5 separate regions of the Homo sapiens genome follow, and all the other regions are linked to region 1. Evidence: promoter capture Hi-C in 16 types of primary human blood cells and fetal thymus (Javierre and others, 2016). All regions are on one chromosome and are shown on one strand. The core of a region is centred on a gene start or on the middle of the fragment in contact, and the rest is flanking DNA. Distances in the headings are between cores, read along the strand shown.

Region 1 (3,714 bases), core at 423-2,922:
AAGACATTTCAGTCAATGATGAACCACATATACAAAGGTGGTCCCATAAGATTACAATACCATATTTTTACTGTACCTTTATATTTAGATACACAAATACCACTGCGTTACAACTGCCTACAGTATTTAGTACAATAAGATGTACTAAATGCAGGTTTGTAGTCTAGGAGCAATAGGCTATACCATATAGCCTAGGTGTGTAGTAGGCTATACCTGCTAGGCCTGTGTAAGCACATTCTATGATGTTCACACAACAGCACAATTGCCGAAAGTGGCATTTCTCAGAACATATCCCTATCATTAAGTGAGGCATGACTGTATATGCTGTATTCTAAAAAAAATTAATGCATTTATATACCAGAATCTATGCATAAGAATGCTCATACTGGTGTTGTTTGTAATACCAAGCCTGAGAAACAGAAGGAATAAACTGTCACAAAACCACAAAACGGAATAGTATCAGTATACATCAGTGCAAATAAAAGAATTACACCTATACACTTCTACATGCAACTACCTAGGATTAATTTAGAAGCATAATGAACAAAAAAAGAGTACAGAATCAACTATGCTTACACAGCTCATAAAATTAAACATACATGTATGTTAGGTTTTGAAGGGAAGGCAAGGATTAAAGAAAGAGAGGGTGGCTTAACAACAAATACAGGATTTATGTCCAGCATAAGACCTACAGAGGTGGGAGACCAGCTTAATGCCAGTGCCCGTTGCTTCTTACAGGCTGGGGTGATTTATAGGCCTGGGTGGGAGTGGTCTGGGGGGCCATGGCCTGCTTCCTGGGAACATGTTGATAAGGTGTTCCCAGGACGAGGCGGCTCTGGCCCTTGTTCCAGTGGAATGTGGTACTTTCTCCCAGCAGAGTATAAGAGGCAGCCTGTTTCTCACGCCCGAACCCCGTGGAATGTTTCACTTTGACTAAGGTCTGCAAAATGGCAGGGGGGCTTACAAAAATGGTGCAGTTTGGACTAACAACGTACATAAATTTTTAAAAAGCAAAAGAATAAATCCCAAATATGGGAAAGTGTTATCTGTGGAAGAAAGTAATGGGATGGTATCAGAAAAGACACTGGTAATTTAAACAGTGTTGACAATGTCTCAGTTTTAAAATTACCAGCTGGTTCCCATGTATAAGTTGCTTACTTATCTGTTACACCTATTTATGTATATATAAAAATAGGTTTCCAAACGACATCCCATGTGTATGAAATAACAGAATTTTTATGCCTTATTAAAATAATTTCTCTAAACACTTGAAGAGCCCGAGCCGCCTCTTACCCTAAACGAACCCCACGCCCCTGAATTGATCAGTCACTTCCGCCTCCACCTTTCCAGCTCCACCTAAGGAAGCGGAAGTACTTTACTCTTGGGTCCTCCCACCTGTAGGGGGCTCTCCGAGGCTTCTAGTGCCACGAAGGCCTCCTGCCTGGGTTGTCCTTATGGCGCCTGTGAGTTTAGTTCTAGAAAAGATATTTGTATTTTAACTTTTCCATCTAACAAACAGTAGCACAGGCATCTTAGTCTGGACAACAACGTACAAGCTGAATTCCTGGCTAGTTCCCTCATTATCAAACCCTGACACAGTAGTAGGCGCGAGTCAGGCAGTGTGGGGACAGCCCCGAGTTGCCGAAAGTCCCCGGCCCGTTTTCCTCCTGTGAAGACATAGCTGCGGGTGGCTGTGCTGGTGGCGTTCAAGATGTCGACCAAGAATTTCCGAGTCAGTGACGGGGACTGGATTTGCCCTGACAAAAAGTGAGTTCAAGAAGGGTCCTGAATTGGGACGGAGTTTGTTAGTGGAAGCTTTCCGAGGTCCGTCCGGCATTTTCCTTTTTTATGATTTTCTGTGCCTTAAGACGGGTTGAGGCGGCGAACCGCCAGTTCCCTGGCGGGAAGAAGGCTCCCAATCTCCTCACGAGAGAGGTCTTTCCGGGAGCCTTTGTTCTAGATATGTCTTCAGCGTTTCCTCGACATTACCTCCGCAAGGTAGCCTCTCTTTTTAGAGTGCGAGATGGCCTACCTTTTTGCCCCCACCCCCCTCCCCCGCCCCGGCCAGGTTTTAGCGATAGGAAACCTCTCCAGTCAGGCCAGCTTGGTGTTGGATCTCCCCCACGTGACTTTTCTCTGCAGAACTTTACTCTTGTTCACGGAAAATATTGCTTTCTCGCACTCGTCCTTTTGCCTCTTATAGTTCACCTTGTTTTGTATTTTTACTCAAACTTTTCCTCCATACTATTTTCCCCTTTTCCGGAAGCTCTACCCTCTTCGGTTTGGGAAATTCTGACATTTTCTTTGTGGATCATTTCTCCACAAGAATTGGGCTTTTCGCCTCCTTAGAGCCGAAAAGGAGGGAAGAGGCCTGTGTTTTTGCCTACTCAGCCCTTAAGATGCCTGCAGCAGAGAAGCACGTGTGTTAGTGGCTCTGCTTTTTGACATTGTTGCCAAAGCCAGTACTCGACTAGATAGTTAATCAGATTTTTTTTGAAGGGTGCACAAATAGGTGTATCTATTCGGAAATAACATGGAAAATAATTTAATGTACAACTCATGTTCACATAAAAGCCTTTTATTTGTTGTACCTAAGTTAGCCACAAATAGGTTTTGATTGTAAAAAGCAAAAACTTTGAAATAAACCTGGGTTTAGTTAAAATTCTATTACTTATTTAACTGCTAAAAAAGGAATAGAATTTTTTTTTTAATGAAAACATGAAATAACATGGATAGGGTGTGTAAACAGTGACGTGTAGCAAATTCTAATTGGTGGCTATTGATAGTAATTTGATATTAAGATGACCTGAAGGAGTAGTTCAAGCCTAACAAATGATACTGAATAGAACCAAAGTTATATGTTATGGATAGTATTGCTCTGAGTGGTAAGACATTATTGAAAACGTTCAAAAGATTTAGAACAACAACTTCTGACTTTGTTGTTACCTGTAAAATAATGTGCTTTTGTCAGTGTCTTTAATGACAGCACACCCAGAGGTAGGACTCTCAATGAGAGTTCATTTCAACTCATTTACAAATATATGAATAGAATGTTGTTTGTACAATATGTTTAAATGCAGGATAAATTTTCAGAGTATATTTTCCATGCTTAATGGAGTTAAAAGGAATATTTTTAGGGGAAAAACTTAACCTAAATATTATTTAGAGTGTTTCACTTTAGTGTCATCCCATACTTCACATCTGTATTGTATTCTAGTATAATGCCTTAAAAATCAGCTTTTTAAAGTTTAAGCATTCCATGTTATCCAGAGCATTTAACATACTTTTACCAATATACACGTACACTTCTAAGGTCATGTGAGTGAACCAGTAATTCTTTAGGTTTGAGTTTGTTGAGTATAAGCATAAAGTCTTACTGTACTACATGTGTTGAGATTATTGGTTTTGGTGGTTGTGTCATTTTTTTCAGCGAAGTCTCAGAGGTTTGAGAAATGCCCTGTAAAACTCAGTTTTCTTACAATTATTGAATCTTTTTGTATTTTTAGTCAGTACAACCTATCATATTTGGTTCCTTAGCATCCTACCTACTGCATGTAAAAAGATAATTTCATTAAGATCCATGAAGCCCTCCTTGATTTATAAGTTTTTTTCCTCATTGGTCCACCGCTAGGGTTTAAAACTCCCTGGTAGCTTGTAAGTAATTAGTGAAGTGGAGTTAACTCTCACTTTCAACTTTGTAAAGGGATTATAACT
Region 2 (3,617 bases), core at 890-3,389, 3.7 Mb after region 1:
TCCTCTATGTGTAGCTTATTTTCAAATATTCTTATTGTAATAATGCTTGGTGGTTACGAAGCTCTGTTTGAGCAAACCAGAAATCTGTAATGGAGGAGAAAAATGAATAACAACAGGCCTGCCCCACCCCCCAGATTGTGGCAGGAGTAGTTAACTTACTTAAGCTCTTTGTTTTCATTTTCCTAATCTTAAAACAGGAGCAATAACTTTTTTTTTGCGGGGGGGAGGTATGGAGTAATAACTTTCTTATAGAGTTGATGTAAGGTTTAAAGGAGATCACGTATGTAAAGTGCACCAAGCACACACTAAAACATCACGTTTTAGTATGAATATTGTTACTGTGGCCGTGGCCAGAAAGAGTTAAGAAGAGGAGCTTTCACAGATGTCTCAAAGATGCAGGCAGTCTCAGAGACGCAACAGCCCGTGAAGAGAGAAAATCTGTCAAAATGTGGAGATCTTCTACATTGCACTTGAGCTATTTCAAAAAGGTGGGAAGAGTATGGTCAAAAGCTCCTTGTCTTGGTAGGTGCCACAGAACCAGAGCCTGTGGAAGGGGGGATGAGATAGGGGGTGTGTTTGAGGTTGGGCGTTGTGGGCAGGGTGCAGGACTGAGGCAGCAGGGAAATAAGTGAGGAATAGGGGAGGATTGAGAAACAAGAAAACCAGGAGGCTTGCTGCCCCATGTATGTAATATGACTCGTGTCTTCTATTTTCCCTGCTAAGGAATTGATTTAAAATCTGCTCGGAAATTGATGATTACATTCCGCCATGTTACATATCCTGACACGCAACAATGTTTAAATTATATCGGAAATTTAAAAATTGGACTGCTTTCTATCAGGGCAGTCTGAATTAAAGAGCTGATGTCCAGTCTCCTAGTGGAGATAGAATACTGGGCTAATGCCTGTCACTAGCACTTACAGAGGTGTGAATTTGGTAAATCATTTCATCTCTGAAGTGGTTTCAACATTTGTGAAAAGAGGCAAACTATTTGCCTAACAAAATGTTGAGTTCAAGGTTATTCATAGCTCCTACCAAATAAGCGATGCATTTGCTACTTTGTGTTAATGGAAAAGGACTTAAAAATTATGATATACTTAAACCCGGTGCTACCAAATGTGCTTAAATACGCATTCAAATTGTATTCTTTTAATGAATTTTAATATTCTCAACTAGTATCAATGCTTTGTCATTATTAAGTGTTGACTTCAATATTTCCCTCCCCTCACCGCAACTCCTAGCACACATGCACTCGAAATGTTCTCAAATGATATGTATTGAGCGCATGTGACTAACAACACAGCCACCTAAGCCCTGACTTGCCGGACACGAACGGACGATTAATTGGAATAATTGTAACAGGGTTTCTATAAACAGTGCTTCCTGGAGGCTTGCCCCGCGTCTAGCGCTGCACCGTCAGGAGTTAACCACTCCTACGACACCCGCCGCCACACGGTGAGAAGCCCGGGAAAGACGCGCCACGCTCCCATGTGATAGTTTCACTTGTCTTTTTGGTTAGTTCTGCTACCCTAGTTCATGTCCCCGCGAGAGGAAACGTATTCCCCCTCACATTAGACAGAAGAGCCTCGATTCACCGTGGAGGCTGACGGAGGGCCACTCCAGCAACTGAGCAGCTCGGACTTGGCACAGGCAGGGTCCAGCCTACCCGCGGCCGGCGCGGCGCCTCAGCAACACCCCCTCCCCCGGAAGTTTGTGCGTCTCAGATGTAAGGTCTGGGAGTCACCTTGACCCCCCTGGAGCGGTGGGGAAAGTTAGCCCTGAGCCCGAGGGGGCGTGAGTGAAACCAAAGAGCACTTTCGCGAGTCAGTTACGCCGTCACGGTTTTTTGGTTTCAAGGTAGCTGAAGACCTAGAGAGTTTAAGGGTGGCCAGAGCAGGTGGCAGGACTCCGCCCACCACCACGCTTCCCTTCCTTCAGCCCGCACGCTTCACTCCCCTCATGGGGTCTCGCCTCTCAGGCGCGCGCGAAGAGTTGTCGCGCGGTGCGTCCTGGGAATTGTAGTCCCGACGCGGAGAGTCGCCTCAGGAGAAATGACTCTGGCCTACATACCCCACAGTGCCTTGCGGCGCAGGCCGCTCCCGGATGTGTGCCTGGCGCCGGAAGAGAAGACGGCCCCCCTCTCTCGGCCCGGCCATCTTGTGGGAAGAGCTGAAGCAGGCGCTCTTGGCTCGGCGCGGCCCGCTGCAATCCGTGGAGGAACGCGCCGCCGAGCCACCATCATGCCTGGGCACTTACAGGAAGGCTTCGGCTGCGTGGTCACCAACCGATTCGACCAGTTATTTGACGACGAATCGGACCCCTTCGAGGTGCTGAAGGCAGCAGAGAACAAGAAAAAAGAAGCCGGCGGGGGCGGCGTTGGGGGCCCTGGGGCCAAGAGCGCAGCTCAGGCCGCGGCCCAGACCAACTCCAACGCGGCAGGCAAACAGCTGCGCAAGGAGTCCCAGAAAGACCGCAAGAACCCGCTGCCCCCCAGCGTTGGCGTGGTTGACAAGAAAGAGGAGACGCAGCCGCCCGTGGCGCTTAAGAAAGAAGGTAAAGCAGGGGCAGAATGTGGGGGAGACTGGGATGGAGGGAAGGAGCGAGGGGGCTGCCGGCTGCCACTTGTTTCTGGAGCTCCGAGGGTCCGCGGGAGACTTTGCCGCCTATATCCTCACGTTTCTTCACGCGACAAAAGTCCGGTCCTGCGAAGGTGCCAGGAGCGTGGTAGCCCCAAGTTCAAGCCACCGCCGGCGAGGTTCTCGGAGCCATCCCCTTCCCGCCTCAGGTTGTGAGCAGAGGAGCGTGGTCGGAGATGAGCTGCTCCTCGAGCGCGCTCGAGGTCCTGGGAGGCTGTTGCCTTCCCGCCGGATTCCTTGGCGGGTGAGCGCATGGACTGAGGTGCGGGGAAGCCGGCCCCTCACCGAAGCTTTCCGTAGTTACGGAGGAGCTTGGGGGTCCATCGCTGCTTACTGCGCAGAGCTGCTCCTTTGAGGTGCTGTTGTTTCAGGCTCCTGTCCTGCCGTCTTGTCCCACGACGGCGCGGAGTATCCCCGCTGAAAAGCAGGGGGTCGTTCCAGGCCATCAGACGTGTGGAGTAAGCTGCAGGTTGGGGTGCCGCATGTCCTTTATTTGTTTCTCTTCCACCTCTCAACTGTTAGGACTTTCTCATAACTTGCTGGGGTGAGTTGAGCCGTTGGGAAATGGAGGAGTTTGGCCACACTCGATTAACCAGGAGCGGGAATTATGAATGAAGACTGGTGATTGCAGGACATCCCGAGGAACGTCCTCGAGTCACGATCCTCTCTCTCGACTCCCCAAACTGAATCTTTCACGTGGTGGGGTCTGGGCCTCGTGGGTGAAGTGAGTGCAGAGGCTGTCACAGCGTTAGTCGCAGCAGAGCTCTTTAGAGTTCGCAGTTTTTTTTTTCCACCACATGTGCGTGAAGCATGGTCAGAGTTTCACTGGCGGTTAATAGTTGTTTCTAGGGCACTGTGAGTTTCACAGGATTGTCTTGATTTTTGCATTCGCTTTACCAGTTTGTTGCGGATGAAAAAAAAGAGCAAGCAGTTTGGAGATAAGAACGTGCATGATCAATAGCAAGCAGGTGTTGGACCTAA
Region 3 (3,605 bases), core at 60-2,559, 3.1 Mb before region 1:
AAAGCCTAAAAAATTAAGATTGTCACAAAATTTAGTCACTTCTTATCAAAAACACACTTCTCCTCTATCATCATGTACACTGCATTATTCAGGGATTAAATTTAGGAGTGACTTACTTTTTTTTTTTTTGCCTAGATCCTTTTATTAAAACACATACTTAGGTTAGAATCATTCCTAATTCATCTTTTTTTATCCACATTTCGACACCCCAGAAAACAGAATGTGCCTTACAAATGATAGTATAATAGCTATTAGCCAGGCAGCAATAGTCATGGAGTTGTTACTTGCTCACATGTGAACTTGGTCATATCTGCGTATATGACTGTCACTTCAGTTGAATTAGGTACATTATTGGTGGTACGTTTGTGCTACTACACACCAAGCAATACATCTCAAAGCAAGAGACATTGATAAGTCCTTTGAACAGAACCATTTCAAAGCAACCAGAATCCATGCATTGTACAGGATTATGATTAAAATTCAGATTAGGTTAAAATACAGTATTGAGCACTTAATAAACATATAACATCCTCTGAACGCTCTGTAAGTAGATAAATGTTAAACAACAGCTACCATATATTTTCTTTAAAAAGAATCTTGAAAAAGAAAAAACAAACACACAAATACCACAATTGAGGGCTTCAGACAGGTCACTTCTGGTTTACCAAACAATTAATTTTCATATTGACATGTTAATATGACGTCAATTTGTGAGAAATCTCTTTCTGACTTTGAATAGAATCACAGGTCCGATCTTCTAAGGACCTGTGATTAAACTGAAAGAAAAGTGAAACTGAGTTTTGCCAAATAGAAGGGTATCAAATCTTGCAGGAGTGTGGGTCTGTAGCTGGGTAAAAAAAATCCAGACATAAGTGTGGTAGAGCACTCAGGAAATGCAGCCTTACCAATAATTCTGAAAGCAGAGAAGATGGTACTAGGTGGACATATGCATATCAATAGCTCTGAAAGTGCTGAAGAGTTTGAATGTGAAGCTGTAGAAATTTCTTGATGATATCTCAATATTTTATTTTTTTGTTATTTTATATGTATATGCAAGAGGGTTAAATAAAAATCTGTATTTAAAAACATCTAAAAGAGCTCTCCAATAAATATGAAAATTTCAAGTAACAAAAAAAGCAGTGTCATGTTTTATTGTGTTTTTCTTAATGGAACATAAAATAATGGTGATTCTTATAACTGATGGCACTTCAGATTTGGTAAAACTACAATTTTGAACATTTAATGAATGACAAAGACATAACATCCTCTGAAAAATCTGCAAGTAAATCAATCATTTTTAAACAATAGCTACCATATATTTGTATCTTCTCCTTGGGAAAAACTTTGGAAAAAAAAACACGCACATAAGTATCATAACTGAGGGTTGTGGACAAGTTACTTCTAGTTTACCAATTTTTATATTGACATAAAGTAGCACAGACTAGTTATTTCATTTAAAAAAACACACTGACAAATCTTTTCTCTATTACACTTATAAGACTTTTCACTTATATGCTTATACCAATATAGAAACACATAACTTGAGATTCTAGCCAATTTTTATTTTCTCGAAACTGTTTATCACCTGTGTATTATCTCAGTTTTTCCATTTTCCTGCCTGCTTCTTGATGTCTGCATTTGGGCCAATTATTGTTTCTCAGCATCACCAGCATGTGGACAAAAAATAAGATGAAAACTAAAGTCAGTTCATCTGGTAATTGAAGTTTTGTTAGAAGGACTGATAGGAGATAATGCAAGTAATGTCTATAGTGAAATTATATGATTATTGATGAATCTCAATTATTACTACCACTTTCCCCACAGATAACTGAGTTTTGTGTGCATATGTGTGTTTTCCTATGGAATGGAACATAAAGGAAAATTTTAAAGATATACAAACACATGTTCAAGTGTATAATACATATGTACTTTTAGTTTCATTTTGATAAAATTAATGAGATACAAATTTTATCATCAATTTCAGAGGTCTTTGTATCTAGTTCTTTATCAACGAAAATAATCACAATATATTGGGCACTGAGTGAATTTGTCAGCTATGGATTCGTTTCTGAAAAAGTATTTCTACAGTATTCCTACACTACTCTGAAGACCCTACAGTATGCCATTTTTATTATTAAAAATAGAATTACAGTTGAGGAGAGAAGTGCCAGTGAATACTTAGAACTTCACTGGACCAAAAGCCTCAAAAAAGATGGAAAAATTCCAAAGGTATGCTTAGAAAATTACCTTTAAAACTAATTATGTGAAAAAACAATGCTCCACAAATCAATCATTATTAAAAACAAAAATACTGATACACATCCAAAATAGTATCTCTTTTCTCAACTTAGTCTTGGAATATTTTTCATCAAAATGACTTATATGTACTTTTGCACTATTAATATTATGCTACAACAATTATGTTAATACAGTTTTCATTAACTGAGTTCAGTGAAACAGCCTACAAAAAATACCTATCTCTGGAATGTTACTCAAAAAGGCAAAGTGTACAATATTTAAAATATCTCTACATCAAACTGCTTTTTAAACTGATTTCTAGAAAAATTTGTTCCCTGTAAGTTATCATATCTTCTACATCTTTGTAGATAAGCATTTCTTCAATGGACAGCAACTTATAGCTATTCAGGCTGAATGCTGACTTGTTCTTAACAGCATTTAACATCTTTAGGGATGTTATAACTGAGTCACTCAAAGAAGAACAAACTGGGAAAATGCGTGCAGTCCACAAACTCAGACATGTCTTGTTACCAGAGAACAGTTCCTCTGTAACTTTAAGATTCCAAACATCTAAGCATGACAGGAAACAGACTCCAAAGAATTGAAGTAACTTTATATCTGACAATGTTTTCACACTCTTTTTCAAGTTGTCTTGCACTCCAAATGCCATAGTTGCATACTTTAAGCATCTATTCATCTTTAAGCTTAAGGAACATACAAAAGAATGTGCGGGGAGGGCAGCTTTTGTTAGGATGTAAGAACCACTAATAATGCAGTTTTCCCCAACTGAAACATCAGGCCCCAATCTGGAATACTCCACAACTGAGCCAGGTGCCACAGAACATCTTGAATCCAGTATGCTTTGAATGATACAGGATGTTTTGCCAGAGCATTCTGGTATATCTGGAAAGATACTAAAAGTTATGGACTGTAAGCCGAGCTCTGACTTTAAACTGTTATCTGAGGTAAAGTAAAACAAATATTCTTCGGTTGTTCCAATGTGATAAAATTTGGAGTTATTAAGAACAACAACATTTAGTGATGTTCCTTTAAGAAGATGAAATATTCTCTGCCTCATTTCTACCAACTCTGACTCTTCTTTAATGACATTTGATGTGTTTCTGGTGTACTCCACAGTTGCTCCAGGTCCCAAAGCCTGCAGAAAGTCACCATAGGCATCTATTTCACAGCTCAGTGTGCCTATTTTTTCATAAAAAGCAAGTAACATTTTTGCTGATTTATGATCCATATAAAATAGGCTATCTGTGTAGACATAGTCAGAGTCTAATTTAAGATCGGCAATGTCACCCCCAGCAAAGTCCTGTTGACAAAAATTTCCAGGTCTACACACAGCATTAAACTGATAC
Region 4 (3,323 bases), core at 250-2,749, 3.1 Mb before region 1:
TGTGATCCTTTATAAGTAAGATTTTTTAAAAATTCTTTGGCTTTTTCCAAGATTTTTTTTTTACCTTTGATTTTCTGAAGTTTGTATATTAATTATCTAGGTGTGAGGTTGTTTTTTTTTTATTTTCTTACATTTATCCTACATGATGTTCTCTGTTTCTTGAATCTGTGGCTTAGTGTCCGATGTTAGAGTAAATTGTCATTCATTATTGTTTTAAATACTGCTTTTATTCCTTTCTATTTTTCCTTTTTTGGCATTTTTATTACACGTATGTTACACATTTAGAAGTCCCACACTTCTGGAATGTTATGTTTTTTTTCAGTCTTTTTTTTTCTCTTTGGTTTTTAGTTTTGAATGTTTTTGTTGACATATCCTCAAAGTCAGAGATTCTTTTATCAGTCATGTCCCATCTACTAATGAGCCCTTCAAAGGTATTCTTCATTTCTGTTATAATGTTTTTGGTCTCTACCATTTCTTTTTTATTCTTTCTTAGAATATCTATCTCTCTACCTACATTATCCATTTGTTCTTGTATGTTGCCTACTTTTTCTATTAGAGCCATTAGCATATTAATCCTAGTTGTTTTCAATTCCCAGTCTGATATTTCCAACATCCCTGACATCTGTGTGTCTGTTCCTGATGAGTTTCTGTACTGCCTGTCTGTTGCTCCAATTTTGTGGTCAGCAGTTTACCCTATGACCTTACTTTGTGTAGCTAAGAAAAGTTGTTGATTTTTAGTTTGTTCAGCTTTCTAATGTGTTGTTAGGATGGAGTGACTACTCCAAGCTCCTTACATGCCATACTGGAAACTGCAGGTCCCTTGATACACTTTTTGAAGCATATATTTTATCTTGAATTGTTAATGGAACTAGGCATTCAATTAATTTTGTAGTGCTTACTGTATTAGTCTGTTTTCATGCTGCTGATAAAGACACACTCAACACCGGGTAATTTATAAAGAAAAAGAGGCTCAGTGGACTCACAGTTCCATGTGGCTGGGGAGGCCTCAGAATCGTGGTAGAAGGTGGAAGTCACATCTTACATGGCAGCAGACAAGAGAGAATGAGAACAAAGAAAAAGGGGTTTCCCCTTATAAAACCATCAGCTCTCATGAGACTTATTCACTACCACAAGAACGGTATGGAGAAAACTGCCACCATCATTCAATTATCTCCCACTGGGTCTCTCCCACAGCAAGTGGAAATTATGGGAGCTACAATTAAGATGAGATTTGGGTGGGGACACAGCCCAACCATATCATTAAGTGCCAAACACTGTTCTAAACCCTTTAGGTTGACTTATTTCGTCCTCATAAAAATTCTATGGGCTGTTATTATTATCTTCTTTTTACAGATAAGGAAACTGAGGCACAGCATACATAATTTACTTGAGATCACCAATCTCAGAACAACTTACATTTCATTTCCTTTTTCTGTACTTAGTTTATAGGGTGCTTGAAAAATAAAATGAACTTGTCGTAACCAGTAGAATGTGGCTGAGGAGACGCTTCAGTTGAACCTAAGCCTTAGGAAGTTTGGACAGGTTCTGCTTTTATGCTTTGGGAGCCCTTAAGCATGTAGAAAGTCTGGCTACCCTATTTCAGACACACATGGATAGATGACATGGAGAGGACAGGTCAACATAGAGAGGTCCTGAGACAGTATGGAAAGAAAGACTGGTTCATCTCAGCATTCCAGCTGAACCTAACCTTCCAGCAGTTCACTGGAGGAGTGAACTAACTGATGCTTCAGCCACTGTCAGTTGGAGAACTGCTTACTTCAACTGAGTCAACACACAGAATCTTCAGAGTAACAAAATGATGGTTATTTTAAGCCAATAAATTTTGGAGTGATTTGTTACACTACATAAATAATTGAAAAATAAACCTTTTTTGTTGTTTTGCAAGTGATTATTGGCTGTGGAGAATTAAAAATAAAGGAATTTACAATAGATTTCTACCGAAATGGGAGAGACTTTGTCATTTGTACTTAGAAGTCTTTTACAGGTTCCTTCCCCATAGTTTGCTGTTTCTCTGAGGAAAGGAAAAGACAGACATGTGTATGAAAGAGACATTTATTGAAACCTGACTCAGTTCTAGTTCAGGTCCTATGGAAAAATTTGAAAAACTACCTAACCATAAAACAAGTTTTCTGTTCACAGGGTACATATAATTTAGTGGAAAACAGGGCCATTAAATAATAACATATATAAATATGTAATCACTAAATTGGGGATGTGTGGATAGAATCAGAGTCTAAATAATGACTAGACAATAATTTGCCAAAGAAGGTTACACTGAGAGAGAAGTGTAACATCCTAAGATAGCAGGTTAGCACATTTCATTAACTAAGAAGCCAGGGTTCTTAATAGTTTGGATTTTTTAAATTTTTGCTTTAAGTTCAGGGATAGATGTACAGGTTTGATACATAGGTAATCTTGTTTCAGGGTAATTTGTTGTACAATTGATTTAGTCACCCAGGTGTTAAGCCTAGTGCCCATTAGTTATTTTTCTTAATCCTCTCCCTCCTCCCACTCTCCTCCCTCTAGTAGGCCCCAGTGTGTTGTTCCCCTTTATGTGTCCATGTGTTTTCATAATTTAGCTTCCACATATAAGGGAGAAAATGCAGTATTTGGTTTTCTATCCCTGCATTTTTTTGCTGAGGATAATATCCTCCAGCTTTATCCATGTTCCTGTAAAGGACATGATCTCATTCTTTTTATGGTTGTATAGTATTCCATGGTGTAAATGTACCACATTTTCTTTATCCAGTCTACCATTTATGGGCATTTAGGTTGATTCCATGTGTTTGCTATTGTGAATAGTGGTGCAGTGAACATACGTATATGTGTCTTTATAATAGAACAATTTTTATTGCTTTAGGTATATACCCAGTAATGGGATTGCTGGGTCAAATGTTGTTTCTGTTTTTAGGTCTTTGGGAAATTGCCACACTGTCTTCCACAATGGTTGAACTAATTTACACTCCCACCAACAATGTATAAGCGTTCCTTTTTCTCCACATCACCAGCATCTGTTATTTTTTGACTTTTTTTGTTGTTTTTTAATTTTTATTTCAATAGTTGTTGGGGTACAGGTGCTATTTTGTTACATGGATAGGTTCTTTAGTGATGATTTCTGAGATTTGAGTGTACCTGTCACCCAAGCAGTGTGCACTGTACCCAGTATGTAGTCTTCTATACCTCGTGACCCTCCCAACCTTCACCCTTGAGTCCTCAAAGTACATTATATCATTCTTAGGCCTTTGCATCCTCACAGCTTAGCTCACACTTATATGTGAGAACTTATGATATTTGGTTTTCCA
Region 5 (3,569 bases), core at 457-2,956, 3.4 Mb after region 1:
TAAGATCTCTGTGTGTCAGTATTTTCACCTTCAAAATGGGGCTAATAATAGTACCTACTCCCACAGGGTTGTTGAGAGTGCTAATGAGTTCCTGTTGATAAAATGCTTAGATCAGTGCTCAGGATGTAGTAAATCTTGTATGAGTGTTGCTGTCACCCAAAAGCTAGCTCCAAACATGCCTTCAGTGTGTACCTTCCTGAGCTATAGTTCCTCCTCCTGGAGTAAATGCCCTTCACATTCACCTGGCAGATCTCTTCATCTTTCAGGTCTCACTGAACCTGGCAAACATTCCCTGGCCCCAGGAACACTTAGGTCTTGAATATACCTCATTATCACTTGTCACCTAGTATTACAGGTATCAGGTATCCCTACTAAATTGTACATATCCTTAAAGGTGGCTGCTTTTTCACCTTTGTGGCCTTGGGACCTAACATAGTGCCAGGAAAATGATAGGCATTCAATAAGCAGCATGATTGAAATGAACAAGCTTATCTTTTTTTTAATGTGCTTAATGATTTCCTTATAGATTGTCAACTTAAGGAGAAATGCTCTAATAGGCTACATCTTTGTATTCTTCATAGCACCTAGCAAAATTATATTCAATATTCAATCAATCGATCACATTTTTGTGCTGTTTGCAAAATACGATGCTAGCTTATGAACAAAGAGTTTACAACCTTTTTCTCCATTCCATTCCTATATGCCTTCTGGAGATTTCTATCCTTTGAACTTCCAGAACAGTTCTCTGGGCCTTTCTTACGTTGCTGGTAATTTTCTGTTTTGTATTTATGTAGTGATACGAAGTCCTTGAGGCCAGAGTGTGTGTCTGATTTTTTTTTTTTTTTTTTTTGGTAGACTTCAATATAGCCAGCATAGTCCCTTGTCCACAGTAAGCACTCACTTAATATTTCTTGGTGGTTTTCATGAATACGACCTTTTCACAGAGGTTCTTATGTTTACCAAAGTATTGTTAAAAAGAAAAAAAGTATTCACTTCTTTGAGGGATACTTACTTGGTGTCAAATCATGCCACTGAGTTTTGTTCATTTGAAGAGAACTTATCTCCCAAATTTCAGTCTTTTACCACATATCAAAGAATAAAATTCTACCTATATAAATGAAAATTAAGCAATTATTTCACAAGGGCTCCAGTAAGGCATCTCAAAACATGCTTTGGAAATATTTCAATTGACAGTATACAAATAATTCTTTCCTAAAAAATGACCCTTTTTTCTTTATTTGGGAACTAAGGTATGTATTATAGGAGATTAGCTACTTTCATGGGTCCTTTCATTATAAAAGTTTAACTTACCAAGATCCTAGGTTAAGTGTGGAAAGGAGGAAGCAATGCTATTTATGACACTGAGGTGAAGTTGCCAGTGGAAAAATTAGGTATTTTCCACTTTTCAACATTCAATACACCTTAGGTAGATGAGGGGATTTCTGTTCTTGTTGTAACGTAGCTTGCAATAAGTACATTTAATGGTTTTTAAGGCAACGACTAAAGAATATTTGCATCAATTAGAGATAGAAGCCATCCAGGTAATTTTATATTTGTTTAAAATTAACTGTTTCATGATTGGGTTTTTCAATGCTGTGTTAACTTTATGTTATGCTCAATCAGGAAAGAAAAACAAGAGTTTAAAATTTTTGAAGAAACCAAATGGCATTACAGTAATTGTTGAGATTTTCCTCAAAACAATCTGAAGAATGTATAAGTACTATTACATATCTCTAAGCATTATGAATTTAGAATAAAGATCAAAAATTCTTTTTGAAAAACATAGTTATATAGATGTACATGTCATAACACAGATCTCTCTGATGCCTTAAGTTTTCCTATTGCTATCACCTGGGTTTTAGAAACAGCCACACTCCATTGAGCACCTATCATGTGCCAGGTAGTTTGTATTCATTATTTCTAATCATTCATTTATTCAATAAATATTAATTCAGCACCTACTGCTTGCTGGCACTTGTGTCCACTACTGGGCTACAATAATGAACCAGACATTACCTGCCTTGAGGGAGGTTGCAGAGTTGTAGGAGAGGCCACAAGTCTGCAAGATAGGTAATCTTATCTCCATTTTACATGAGTAAAACAGGATGAAGAAGGACTAATCAAGGCTAGCTGCTACTGTGCTCGTTCCACTAAGCAAACCAGCTTTATCCACTGTGTGTCTCCACTTTAATTCATTCATCTCTGCAAGAGGGTTCTTACCAAATCGTTGTGAAAAAGGGCTGAAAAAAACCTTACTTCAATGGGAAGGCAAAACACCTTGCTATTTAAAACTCACTGCTCTCAATCTTTTGGTAATGTAAGAAACAAATATTAAATACCAGTTATGTTTTGGAGTGGGCACTGGATTTTAAAAAGATACAAGAAGCCTAAATAAGCCTAAAAACCCACATTTCTAGCAGATGTAGAAAAAGTCACTTGTGAAAAGATACAAGAAGCCTAAACAAGGCCTAAAACCCCACAATTCTAGCAGATGTGGGAAAAGAGAGTCATTTGCAAGGTGAAGGGCTCATGGAGCTATGTATTCATAATATATGCAGAAACTTGGAGCTTTTTGTTGCTATTAGTGGGTTTTCCCTACCCTTTCTTCTGATTGTATGTAGTCATGACTAGGATGAAAGACAGATGGCAGGGGAGCCATAAGGGGGACGGTTTGAGAAATAGGATAAGAAAATTCCTGTGGACAAAAGCAAGGCTAGGCCTTGCCTCCATAAGCATTTTTGCTTTCTTTGGTCTATGCCTACAAGATTGTTGGAGTTAATTATCAAGTGACTGTTCTAACTAAAAATGATTGTTCTACTGAAGACTTTTCTTTTGCTTTTCTTCTCTGCCATCTATTCCATCTGATAGAATTTAAGCAGACCCCTCAGAACCATAGAAATGTTCAGCTGGAAAGCACAAAGCTTTAGGAAGAGACTAGGGGCAGCAAAAAACCTTGCCTGGCCACTTCCCTGTTTGCTCTGTAAAAATGGTTCTGCAAAATGCACAACCTTGGATTCTTAGTCACTTCCTAACTGGCCTTGTCACCTACAGCTGCTCATCCCAATAATCATCTTTCACAGACCCCGGTGTTACTTTCCTAGAACACTGATCATGCCACTTCCTTCAGGGGCTCCGCTATCTGCCTGAAGTTTACAGAAGGAAGCCCAAATGCATAAGGGTAACACAGAATGCCTTCACAGCCTGGGCCTAATCCCCACCTTCCTTTTCAGCCCCGCTGCTCCCTTATCTTTCTACACCAGAGGCACACACACAATCACTCTGTTTTTACTGACCTGGTTGTGGTCTTTCAGGCCTCCACACCTTTGCACAAACTAATGCAGCTGCTAGCAATATCCCTTTGCCCTCTGTAACTAGGGAAATAAAACTCACTAAGACCAACATAAAATGATCTCTCTTCAGTAAAAACTGGTAGGTAACTTTAGTCACTCTGTCCTCTCTGCCTCCTCAACATTTTGTGTATAATCTTATTACGGCGCTAATATCATTTATCTTTAATTATTCAAATTTTGCAAGCTGAATCTCTAACCATCCCTTTTTCCTGACAACTC

The links. Contacts are between HindIII fragments. The CHiCAGO score rates a contact against its expected background, and 5 or more counts as called.
Region 2: a contact is called between the fragment with the promoter of SERBP1 here and the fragment with the promoter of ZRANB2 in region 1, in 6 of 17 cell types (total B cells, non-activated CD4 T cells, naive CD8 T cells and 3 more). The highest score is 11.9, in total B cells.
Region 3: a contact is called between a fragment that was not itself captured here and the fragment with the promoter of ZRANB2 in region 1, in 6 of 17 cell types (total CD8 T cells, total CD4 T cells, activated CD4 T cells and 3 more). The highest score is 11.7, in total CD8 T cells.
Region 4: a contact is called between a fragment that was not itself captured here and the fragment with the promoter of ZRANB2 in region 1, in 7 of 17 cell types (activated CD4 T cells, naive CD8 T cells, total CD4 T cells and 4 more). The highest score is 14.7, in activated CD4 T cells.
Region 5: a fragment that was not itself captured here is called in contact with the fragment with the promoter of ZRANB2 in region 1 in 2 of 17 cell types (activated CD4 T cells and total B cells); the score reaches 9.4 in activated CD4 T cells.

Annotation. Positions count from the first base shown.
Region 1 is chr1:71,078,993-71,082,706 of GRCh38, reverse strand. It overlaps ZRANB2 (zinc finger RANBP2-type containing 2), which reads left to right and starts at 1,672. Exons shown (of 10, transcript NM_203350.3): 1 at 1,672-1,767. The coding sequence starts at 1,712. ZRANB2-DT (ZRANB2 divergent transcript) reads right to left here and starts at 1,383. Exons shown (of 4, transcript NR_046217.1): 1 at 1,294-1,383. RefSeq lists an enhancer at 1,433-1,722. The HindIII fragment of the contact is 3,322 bases long and covers 1-1,817 here.
Region 2 is chr1:67,428,924-67,432,540 of GRCh38, reverse strand. It overlaps SERBP1 (SERPINE1 mRNA binding protein 1), which reads left to right and starts at 2,139. Exons shown (of 8, transcript NM_001018069.2): 1 at 2,139-2,553. The coding sequence starts at 2,241. RefSeq lists enhancers at 1,488-1,667, 1,698-1,777, 1,988-2,257, 1,695-2,330, 2,966-3,602. The HindIII fragment of the contact is 6,007 bases long and covers 1-2,928 here.
Region 3 is chr1:74,204,755-74,208,359 of GRCh38, reverse strand. The region is part of intron 3 of FPGT-TNNI3K (FPGT-TNNI3K readthrough); the gene reads right to left. It overlaps FPGT (fucose-1-phosphate guanylyltransferase), which reads right to left. Exons shown (of 4, transcript NM_003838.5): 4 at 1-3,605. The coding sequence ends at 2,528. Among named protein-coding and RNA genes, the nearest start is that of FPGT-TNNI3K, 8.3 kb to the right of the region's middle. The HindIII fragment of the contact is 3,271 bases long and covers 1-2,944 here.
Region 4 is chr1:74,187,486-74,190,808 of GRCh38, reverse strand. All of the region lies in intron 1 of LRRIQ3 (leucine rich repeats and IQ motif containing 3), which reads left to right. Among named protein-coding and RNA genes, the nearest start is that of LRRIQ3, 9.0 kb to the left of the region's middle. The HindIII fragment of the contact is 8,734 bases long and covers 1-3,323 here.
Region 5 is chr1:67,688,448-67,692,016 of GRCh38, reverse strand. No RefSeq gene overlaps it. Among named protein-coding and RNA genes, the nearest start is that of GADD45A, 5.0 kb to the right of the region's middle. RefSeq lists a silencer at 2,097-2,391. The HindIII fragment of the contact is 2,434 bases long and covers 490-2,923 here.